Regions from separate parts of the Homo sapiens genome. Here region 1 is linked to region 2. The links are contacts of gene promoters, found by promoter capture Hi-C in human tissues and cell types (Jung and others, 2019). All regions are on one chromosome and are shown on one strand. The core of a region is centred on a gene start or on the middle of the fragment in contact, and the rest is flanking DNA. Distances in the headings are between cores, read along the strand shown. Region 1 overlaps CYP3A7-CYP3A51P (CYP3A7-CYP3A51P readthrough). Region 2 holds the start of CYP3A43 (cytochrome P450 family 3 subfamily A member 43).

What was found. The method cuts DNA at HindIII sites, captures the fragments that hold promoters and counts their contacts. A contact is called where the count stands out against the background at its distance.
Region 1: a fragment that was not itself captured here is called in contact with the fragment with the promoter of CYP3A43 in region 2 in 2 of the 25 tissues and cell types used here (H1 embryonic stem cells and bladder).

Annotation. Positions count from the first base shown.
Region 1 is chr7:99,721,754-99,727,101 of GRCh38, reverse strand. CYP3A7-CYP3A51P (CYP3A7-CYP3A51P readthrough) reads left to right here. Exons shown (of 15, transcript NM_001256497.3): 3 at 4,754-4,806. It overlaps CYP3A7 (cytochrome P450 family 3 subfamily A member 7), which reads left to right. Exons shown (of 13, transcript NM_000765.5): 3 at 4,754-4,806. It also overlaps a transcript of ZSCAN25 not described here. Among named protein-coding and RNA genes, the nearest start is that of CYP3A7, 11 kb to the left of the region's middle. The HindIII fragment of the contact is 4,256 bases long and covers 818-5,073 here.
Region 2 is chr7:99,826,394-99,831,946 of GRCh38, reverse strand. CYP3A43 (cytochrome P450 family 3 subfamily A member 43) reads right to left here and starts at 3,934. Exons shown (of 13, transcript NM_057095.3): 1 at 3,761-3,934. The coding sequence starts at 3,831. The HindIII fragment of the contact is 7,263 bases long and covers 2,042-5,553 here.

The DNA.
Region 1 (5,348 bases), core at 1,696-4,195, 100 kb after region 2:
TCAAGGAATGGAAAGAGGAGTGAGGAAAGGATTTAGGACTTATGGGGTCAGCTAGGTTTCCCTTTGTGAGTTTATATAATGGTTTTGTTAGGATGGCAAAACCAGGTATCCAAAGGCAAAAGTATCCAACCATGCCCAGGAAGGAAAGGAGTTGTTTTGTAGAAGGGGTTGGGGTTTCAGAGATCAGCCAGACATGATCAGCAGGGAGACCCCATGTGTTTTCATGAAGAATTATGCTGAGGTACGTAACGGATGGAGAAGAAATTTGAGCTTTGGAGGGGGATACCCGATATCCTTTGGAGAGTAAATGTTGAAGGAGCAGGAGGGTATCTTGTTGAAAAGACTCAAAGGAGGGACTACAGAGTAGAAGGTCATCAATATATTGAATAATGTGGGAAGCAGAGGGATGGGAAGAAAGTAAATCATGAGAGAGAGCTTGGCTGAAGTAATGAGGGCTGTCCCAGAAGCCTTGTGGCAGTACAGCCCAGGTAAGCTGCTGGGACTGATGGGTGTCAGGGTCAGTTTAGGTAAAAGCAAAGAGAGGCTGGGATGTGTGGTGCAGGGGAATAGTGAAAAAAGCATCTTTAAGATCAAGAATGGAATAGTGAGTTGTGGAGGGAGATATTGAGAACAAAAGAGTGTACGGGTTGGGCACCACAGGGTGGATAGGAAAACAATTTTGTTGATAAGGCGCAGATCCTGAACAAACCTGTAAGACTTGTCTGGTTTTTAGACAGGTAAGATGGGGGAATTATAAGGAGAGTTTGTAGGCTTTAGAAGCCCATGCTGTAGCAGGTGAGTGATAACAGGCTTCAATCTCCTTAAAGCCTCTTGTGGGATGGGATACTGGCGTTAAGCTGGGTAAGGGTGATTAGGCTTTAATGGGATAGTAATGGGCATGTGATCAGTTGCCAGGGAGGGAGTAGAGGTGTCCCATACCTGTGGGTTAAGGTGGGGGGATACAAGAGGAAGACACGAAGGAGGCTTTGGGTTGGGAAGAAGGATGGCAATGAGATGTAGCTGTAGTCCAGGAATAGTCAGAGAAGCAGATAATTTGGTTAAAATATCTCAGCCTAATAAGGGAACTGGCAGGTGGGGATAACTAAAAAGGAGTGCATAAAAGAATGTTGCCCAATTTGGCACCAAAGTTGGGGAGTTTTAAGAGGTTTAGAAACCTGGCCGTCAATACCCACAACAGTTATGGGGGCAAGGGAAGCAGGCCCTTGAAAAGAAGGTAGTGTGGAGTGGGTATCCCCCCTATCGATTACACAGGGGATGGACTTACCCTCTGCTGTAAGAGTTACCTGAAGTTTGGCATCCGTGATTCTCCGGGGGGCTTCCGAGGTGATCGGGTAGCATCAGTCTTCAGCCACTAAGCCAAGGAGATCTGGGAAGGAGTCAGCCAAGAAACATTGGGTTTGAGCTCCAGGAACTTTAGGAGCAGTGGCGATGTGAGTCAGACAGTCCAACCTCTAATTGGAGCCCACACAGACAGGGCACGGCTTAGGAGGAATCCCAGGCTGTGGGCCTTCTGAGGCCCAGTGGCCAGGCTTTTGGCATTTGAAGCAAGGTCCATGAGGAGGTTTTGAAGGAGCCCCTGGGAGCTGTGGCTTGGATGTTCTGAAGGTTTTGTATGCTGGAGACATGGTCTTGGGTTGTCTTACACTGGAGGCAAGTAGCTATAATTCAGAGATGCATTGTCACTTGGCCGCCTCTTCTCTATTATGATACACCTTGAAGGTGAGGCTATTTAAGTCCTGTTGTGGGGTTTGAGGCCTGGAATCCAATTTTTGGAGATTTTTTCTAATGTCAGGAGAGGATTGGGTCATAAAATGCATATTAAGGATAAGGCGGCCTTCTGGCCCCTCTGGGTCCAGGGCTGTGAAGCATCTAATGGTAGGTGCTAAGTGGGCCATGAACTGGGCTGGGTTTTCATCTTTACCTTGGGTAGTTTCCTTTAGCTTGTCATAATTAACAGCCTTGTATGCTGCTTTTTTGAACCCCTTGACTAGGCAGGAGACCATGTAATCTCACCTAGCTATACCTGGGGAGTCCATCTTGTACTGCCAATGGGGATGCTCTTGGGGAACTGCCCTGATGCCTTCTTGAAGGTCTGGCTCATGGCACTGGTGGGTGTCAGTGTGAGATTGGGCTAGGGTATCAACTCTTTCCTGCTCATCTGGGGAGAGGGGGGAGGTCAGGATGACATTTCAGTCACTCCAGGTTAAATCGCAGGACTGAGTTAAATATTGGAATTCCTGTATATATTTAGTGGGGTCTGATGAAAAAGAGCCTAAACGCTGACTGATCTGGGAGAGGTCGATAGAGAAAAAGGCACATGTACCTTGACTATGCCTTCAGCTCCAGCCACCTGACTAAGAGAAAATTGTTGGGCAGGTGGAGGAGGGCTAGTCTCGGAATGAAACTGTAAGGTGGAGTGGGTGTGAGGAGGGGAGGTGATACTTCTATTATAGGGTGGGGGAGCAGAGGATGAGGAAGAATTGGGACCTGGCTTGGCCTGGTGAGGAGCAGCCTGGTGGGGAGGGGAGAGGTCAGATGGGTTCATAGAAAAGGAGGATTCAAAGGACTCAGAGCTTAGGGTGGAGACTGAAGAAAGAGACAGGAGAGAAAGAAGAAAGATTTGGGATGAGTCACACTGGGAGCAGAGACTAGGGAGAGACTGATGTATAAAAGAATGCCTGGATGTCAGGCACCTCAGACCATTTGCCCATTTTTCAACAAAAATCATCCAGGTCTTATAAGATCGAGAAATCAAAAGTGTCATTTTCTGGCTATTTGGAACCATTGTCCAGTTTGTATTGAGGCCAAGCGGTATTGCAGAAGAAAATAAGGCATTTAGGTTTTAGGTCAGGTGTTAGTCAAAGGGGGTTTTAGGTTTTGAAGAACACAGGCTAAGGGAGAAGAAGAGGGAGTGGAGGCTGGAAGGTTGCCCATAGTGAAGGGGGCAAGCCCAGAGAAAAGAGAAGGTAGAGACATGGAGAGAGGGGAGATGGTACTTGCCACCCAGGGAAGGTGGTGCTTGCCACCCAGGGAAGGTGGTACTTGCCACCCAGGGAAGGTGATACTTGTGACCCAGGGGAGGTGGTACTTGTGCCAAGGTGAATGATCAAGGCAGGCATCCCCACAGTGATCAGATACCTCTGAAATGTGGGTGAATAACCAGGCAGGTGTCCTGGCAGTGATTTAGACACCAAGGGAAGACTGTTCCCGAGTCCATGACTGGCACCAGAGTTTTGAGTTCATGGATAAAACGTATCTCCTCCGTCTCTACCAGAAAGGGAAAGAAACTGAAATTAAGGAAGGGAGAGATTGAAGGGTGGAGGGATAGCAAGAGAGGTTGGAGAAGAGAATAAAAAGAGGCCGCTTACCCGATTTAAAATTGGTGAGATGACCTTGGGCTGGCTGGTCTGAGGACCCAAGAGGTGGATCTCCCCATGGAGTGAGGGCGAGGACAGGGGATGGGACTCCCGAAGGAGTCCCCCTGTCCCAGGTCTTTGGCACCAAATGTCATTTGCGTCCATGTGAAGAGACCACCAAACAGTCTTTGTGTGAGCAATAAAGCTTTTTAATCACCTGGGTGCAGGCTGACTGAGTCCGAAAAGGAGTCTGCAAAGGGAGATAGGGGTGGGTCAGTTTTATAGGACTGGGGTAAGCAGTGGAAAGTTGCAGTTAAAGGAAGTTATCTATTGTCAGCAGAGGAGGGGGTCACAAGGTGCATGGTAGGGAGATCATAAGACTCATTGTCCAGAAGAAGAATGTCACGAGGTCGATCAATCGATCAGTTGGGGCAGGGCAGTAACAAGTCATAATGGAACGTTGTAAGGTTGGTCAATCAGTTAAGACAGGAGCTGGCTGTTTCACCTATTTGTAGTTTTTGGTTGCCTCAGGCCATCTGGATGTACCCATGCAGGCTTGGGCTAAGAGGCCTGAAACCCACCACTTTCCCATGTCAAATCTTTAGTAGATGTACCCCCAAGATACACATTCCTCGGACCTTCTTTTCCATAGTTAAAACTTCACCCCTGAAATGTAGAAACAGGAAGGTTTTTTTTTAAGTTTCAGTGCAAACTCGGAGCAAGTGTCATAATTTTCTGTCTCCGATGTGTAGAGGTGACATTTTCTCAGAACTTTCATGTTAAGCTGGAAAACTGGAAAGCGAGTCCACTTTGTCATTCTGTCACTCACTCATTTTCTCACTCAACAAACATGCCTCACACTTATCTAAATCTGCTAGGCTAAAAGAGGTCCCTGGTGTCTGTAACTTTCTAATTCTGCTAGAATTCTAGAGTGAGCTCATGAAATAAATGAAAAGGATGAAGAACAAAGAGAAAAAAGACTGCACGTTCCCTTCTGGCGCTCACTCACATTCCCTCAGCCTCAGTTTCTCCACATGCCCCTAGAGGTGATCATTCAAGGATTTATGAGATTTTAGAGACAACACATGAAAAAGCAAAGAGACATCAGAAAGACAAGGAGTTACTTAGTATTTATACACAAGGATAAGACATTCAGTATCGACAACACTTAAAGAAAATTCAAGAGTGATTTTAAATTTCCCATTTCAAATACCTCCTCTATTTTGTTTCCTTTCTCTTATGACATCTCTAAATAAGCTTCCTCTAACTGCCAGCAAGTCTAATTTCATTGGATTTGACTGTTTTCAACCCCAATTAGAGGCAGGGTTAAGTACACTTAAAATAATAATGAAATATTATTTTGTTTCTCCTCCCAGGGCTATTGGACGTTTGACATGGAATGTTATAAAAAGTATAGAAAAGTCTGGGGGTGAGTATTCTGGAAGATTCCATTGGATAGACTTGTTTCTATGATGAGTTTACCCCACTGCACAGAGGATAGTCTCAGCCCAGAGCCTCTTGCGATGAAGCTCTTGCCAGCCTAACTACAAACAGAGAGGTTTTCTGAAAGAAGAAGATATGTATTTGGGAGAAGAGTATTAGAATGGGAAACTGTGTGCCATTATAAGCTATGTGCAAATTCAGGGAGGTAAAGGAAGACAAAGATGTTCCACAGAAAATATGAGGAGGACTTCATGTGGATTTTGAAATAGTTCTCCTTCACTACAAAGATCAGTAACAAGGGTGATGCCACACCAAGGTTGGACAGGCAGTTGCTGGGCAGGTGTCCTTGCAGAAATATTTTTGTGTAAGGTTGGGTTGGGCTTTCTGCAAGCTGGTGGTTTTGCCAAGTATTTTGTGATAGTTTTGTTATCAGGCACACAAGCATGAGAATCCACTCATCATAGCCTTCTTTGATTTATTTGTCAAGGTTTTTAATCACACACATAGGCACACAGACACACTGACACA
Region 2 (5,553 bases), core at 2,685-5,184:
TTGATTGATATAAACTACAGTAAATGTGATTGACCTATATGTTCTCTGAATGGCACTATGCAGAGGAACCAATGACTAAAGAATAAATTTCAAGGCCATTCCTCCTCTTGTGCAATCTGGCCCTCCAACTGGTGATCCTTACTTGATAAGCACAATGCCAGTCATGCTCACTTTTTTTTTTTCTCAAAATGATCAGTCACACAGAGTCAGTTTACTGCTTCTGTACATCAACTATCCTGCAGGAAAACCCATTAAGTCTGGTGCTCCTTATGGCAGGCCTGCCTGCAACTCATCTTTGATGGGTTATGTGTGAACTCCATCAATTGCAGGTTCTGGATCCTTGCAGAACTTCCCACTCTGGTGTTACTGAGGGATGGAAGACTGGAGGAAAAAGAGAGGCTGCATCCCGCCGATGTAACCATGCAACTGCTGGTGCCACAAAGTAGGCCCTATAAGGGTAAGTTAGGAAAGTGTGGCTGAAAATTATGGTATGCATAAATAGTTTTAAATGCCCCTTATGTGCTTTCAGCTGAAAGAGAGGTCTTCCAAAATTCAGGAACATTTCTGTTGATAGAAAAGTTTCACTGTGCTACATAGCATAAGTAACCATAAAATATTCCAGACAGTTGAATTAGAAACTTGATTTCTCTTCTTTATAGGTTAGCTTTTCTTAGATCCTAAATATTCAGTACAAATAAATAAATCTTATAAAATGTGATAAAGCTGAAAAATTGCATGAAGAGAATGTGTTTGAAGGACCCCACAGTGGCACCCTGGCCAGGCCCAGCTGTTAGCTTGGTTCCCTCTTTGGGGATCTTTTCCTACTCACACATCGAAAATAACCTCTTGGGTTTCCAGTTGTTTATAATCCATTATCTGCCCATGCTAAATTCTGGTTGTTAGTCTAGGTAGATCAAAACTCATAGTCAATCAGAAAGCATCCCCAGGATTGAATGATGTCAGTAAACACTCTTAGTAACAGAAATTGGAAGTTGAATGAAGAGGAGGTGGATAATGTTTATTTACTTCTTCAACGGATCTGTGTAACATCTGTAGGGTCAAGAGAACATTCCTCTATGGAGGTTTGATATTTGAGTCTGAGAAATGAACTAACAGTAGATCAATTAATAGGAGATAATCCTTATAAATTTATCTCATGAATATGCATGGGAGCCTTGAAAGATATGATACTCAAAGAATGGCCTGATGATTGAAGCTTAAATAGCATTCTGAGCTATAAAAATGTAGTATCTTCTGATGGGGAGTGGGTGACACAAGACATGAGAGAGTGAGGGAAGAAAAAGCATGATAAACAAAAGTCATCTTATTATAATGTCTGTCAGGCATCAGTGCTCCAAAGAACAAGTATTATCAACCTTAGTCTCCCTTTCTGTGAGCTAATATTATTTTTTTCTTTTTTTTTTCTTTTAGACTAAGTTTTGCTCTTGTTGTTCAGGCTAGAGTGCAATGGCGCAATCTTGGCTCACTGCAACCTCTGCCTCCAGGGTTCAGGCGATTCTCCTGCCTCAGCCTCCCGAGTAGCTGGGATTGCAGGCACCTGCCACCACACCCAGCTAATTTTTGTATATTTAGTAGAGACAGGGTTTCATCATGTTGACCAGGCTGGTCTTGAACTTCTGACCTCACGTGATCCACCCACCTCGGCTTTCCAAAGTGCTGGAATTACAGGTATGAGCCACCATGCCTGGCCCTGCTAAGATTCTTTTTCATGAGATTATAGGGAGGGGGCTCAAGACCATTGCTTTTTTTTAGGAGGATCTTCCTTTAGGTATGAGAACTTCAGAGAAAGCCCCTTCCTATATTTTGGGAGAAATAGCAGGGTTGGGAGACAGGAGAACATAAGAGTTAGCTTGGTTCTGAAGACTTTCTGAGACCTTTCAATTTCCTTTGGTTCAAAGTCCTCAACATGCTTAAGTGCCATATTTTGGGGTTTCATTTTTGGAGCCCCAACTTTCCCCTGTCATAAACTTCCCTAGAAAATGTACATACTAAAGCTGAGTTGATGCTTGTGGAGAGGACAATTGAATTGGTAGCTGAGTCGCAAGGAATCACATTAAACCAGTATAAACCAGTCTCACATTCCTAGCAATGTCAATCCAGTTAAACAGCTGTGCCTCATTTCAGGAGGTGATGTTGCAGGTCTGCTGTCATGAAAGATAGGTCTGTATATGGTGCAGTTAAACAGGTACTTAATAAGAGGTCATTCTACCAAAGCAAAAGGAGACCAAAAGTTAATCATTTAGCAGACTAGTTTCTGAGTTCACAGGGCAGCCAGACAAAAAGATTTCTACATGTTGGTTTTGAAACAGCTCCAGTTGGAGTAGAGGTAGGCAATGGTGATCTGACAGATTTTTTTTCTCTCCTATAGCTCCTTAGGGCCAGATCTGAAAGACTTTAAGTTGTTGCAATTTCTCTGGAGTCTGCTCTATCACAAAGAATTCTGCAAAAATCACATTTCCTGCCTTTGTGGACCAAACCAATGTATTTCTTAAATGTATTTGATATCTCATGCCTCCCTAAAAGAATAAAACCAAGCTGCACCCTGACCACCTTGGGTACATGTTCTTAAGACCTCCTGAAGGCTGTGTCATGGGCCATGGTCACTCATATTTGGCCCAGAATAAATCTCTTCAAGTATTGTACAGAGTTTGGCTCTTTTTGTTGGCAGCATGTATTAACTCATTCTCTATTACAATTCCCCTGTCTTGATGAATGGGCTCTGTTGAGGCAGGGGGCAAGGTGAATCTCTTGGGTGGTTACAGTGAAAATCCATACAAAATTTTACATGCATATGTGCTGGAGGCCCACAATATATGAGACTAAAATAAGGACTGAATGAGTAAAGCTTAAATAGCATTGTAAGCTAAAAAGTAGGGAGTGGCTTCTGATAGGGAGTTTCTGACACAAGTTATGGGAAGGTGAAGGGAGAAAACACATGATGAACAAAGGTTATTTTATTGTGGAGATAAAGTCTCTCAGGTAGCAGTGCTCCAAAGAATAAGTATTATCAAACTTTTTCTCTTTTCCTGTGAATTAGTTTTCTGATTGATGAGATTATTTGGAGAGGCTCAAGACAATTGCATTCTTTTTGGAAGATCTTCCCTTAGTCAGATAAGAGAACTTCAGAGCAACCCTGCACTTCAGGAGGGAAAGAATGGGGGATGGGTAGACAGAAGAGGGTCAGAGATTCTGAAGACATTTGTGAAGTCTTTCAGTCTTCTTTAGTTCAAACTACTCAGTATGACAAAGTTTTATTTTTTTTTTTGAGACGGAGTCTTGCTCTGTCACCCAGGCTGGAATGCAGTGGTGCAATCTCCGCTCACTGAAACCTCTGCCTCCTGGGTTCAAGCGATTCTCCTGCCTCAGCCTCCCAAGTAGCTGGGATTACAGGTGTGTGCCACCATGCCTGACTAATTTTTGTATTTTTAGTAGAGAAGGGGTTTCACCATGTTGGTCTGGCTGGTCTTGAACTCCTGACCTTGTGATTGGCCTGCCTCCACCTCCCAAGTGCTGAGATTACAGGTGTGAGCCACCGCACCCAGACTAAATTTTACATTTTCAAATGTTGTATTAGGAGTCCTAACATATTAATAATATTTTATGTGTTCACAGTATTTGGCACTTAGGTAACTTCCCCTCCGTTATCTCTTTTATCTTCAAAACAAATAAGAAAAAGATGGGCCCAATTAGCACTTCAGGTCTTAGAGTTAAGAGCAAACATGCCTGCATAGTTACTCACATATAGAGGAGTACCAGGCTGGTAGCCACAAGAACCCATGTTTCCATGGCAAAGTTTGGAATGAGATCCATCACCAGTTTTCTTTTTCAGCTCTGTCTTCTGAGTTTTTCTTTCAGCTGTGTGCTGCTCTTTGCTGGGCTGTGCATATAGAGCTTTGTTTCTCTGCCCAGAGGTGATTTAGTTAATGTTAACAGCGATATTTATGTGCTGGAGAAGGAGGTGGGTCTACAGCGGCAGCCAGTAGAAAAGCCACTTATGCTACTCCTCATATGGAGGGATTTGGGTACCCTTTTCAAATTGACAATTGGCAAATAATTATGGCTGTCCTTATTTTGGCCTCCTTTGATTTCCTATTCTGTGAACAATCAGTAAACAAATCAGTCACTGCTATTGGTAAGCCCAAAGGTTATAGATTCTCAGGAACCTAAAGAAAAATACTTCTGCAAGAACATCTGCCCAGCAACTGCCTGTCCAACCTCAAACTGATGTCAGTCTTGTTATTGATCTTTATAGCCAAGGATAATCATTCCAAAACAAATATGTAATCCTTCTCATTATTTTTTTAAACTTTGTCTTACTTTACCTACCTGAATAAGCACATAGTTTACCTTGGCACGCATATTCCCATTGCAATGCTTTATTCCCAAATAAAAATAATTCTTTTTAGAAAGCCTATCTCTGTTTGTTATCTAGGTTGCCAAATCATGCCTCCAGGTAAACAGACAAGAAGGACTCCCTGTGCCTCAAAAGCAAAAACAAACCCAAGAGGCCATGGCAGGTTTAGGTGATGGTCATGTTCTCTGTGTTCTTAGTAAGTGTTGCAAAACCTATTTTTCTGTAGCCAAGTCAAATAACATTTTCTGAAAAAATCTGTACCTGGGAATTTTCCAACTGCTCACCAACAGATCATGTGGTAAGAACTAACTGACCACCTAGGAACAGCCAATTAAGAGACATGTGACTTGGGGCTTAAAGGCTGTCTAATCAAGACTCTTTTCTTCACTCCTCTGACTCCTCTATCCTGCTCTGTGGTTTTTGACTTTATAGCTCTCCACCTCCGAGGCTGCATCTCCTCAATCTGCAGACTGTGTTTTATAGAAAATGAAGCTCTCCCTCTGTCCTCCACAGATCCCACAATCTTTACTCATATTTCCTGGTGATGAGGAAGGGATCAAAATTGGCTCTCAAGATCCTCTCCCTTGTCATCTGGACTAATCAATGCATTGGCACCAGCAAGAGTCCTCTAAGCTCAGTTATCTTCCTGGCCTGGCTGTTTTGTGGAAAAATCAGTAAATCCTCTTACATCCAAGATCTCACATTTAGGATGAGGTCTTGAGGTCTTTATTTTTTTCAGGGAACCTGCCCTTCTGGCTCTATGGCTACCCACTTGTGGGGTATGCTTGCACTTGGAGGGGCATGCCCATGTTTCTTGGGGTGCATTCATGCTGCATCAAGCAAGTTCATGCCTCACAGGATACTCCATGCTTCAGTGTTGCAAGGACTATCGCATTTTATTTGCCCTTGAAGGGACCCCTTCCTAAGGTGAGGGCTATGCATAACCTAGGTCCTAAGGCCATGGTCTCTAAGGCCTGCCATCGGGTAATTCGGTGGCTCTGTCTCTGATCAATCACTATCAGGTACTCTGGCAGTTTTTCAAGTTTAAAATTTAAAGGTAAAGGCTCGACAGAAATGGATGTGAGAGATACACCTAAATTGAACTCCGAAGCATGCAATGAGGATAAGAGGAGTCTGGACTTCTCAAAGACAGTAAGAGGCTTTCTTTCAATCTGCAT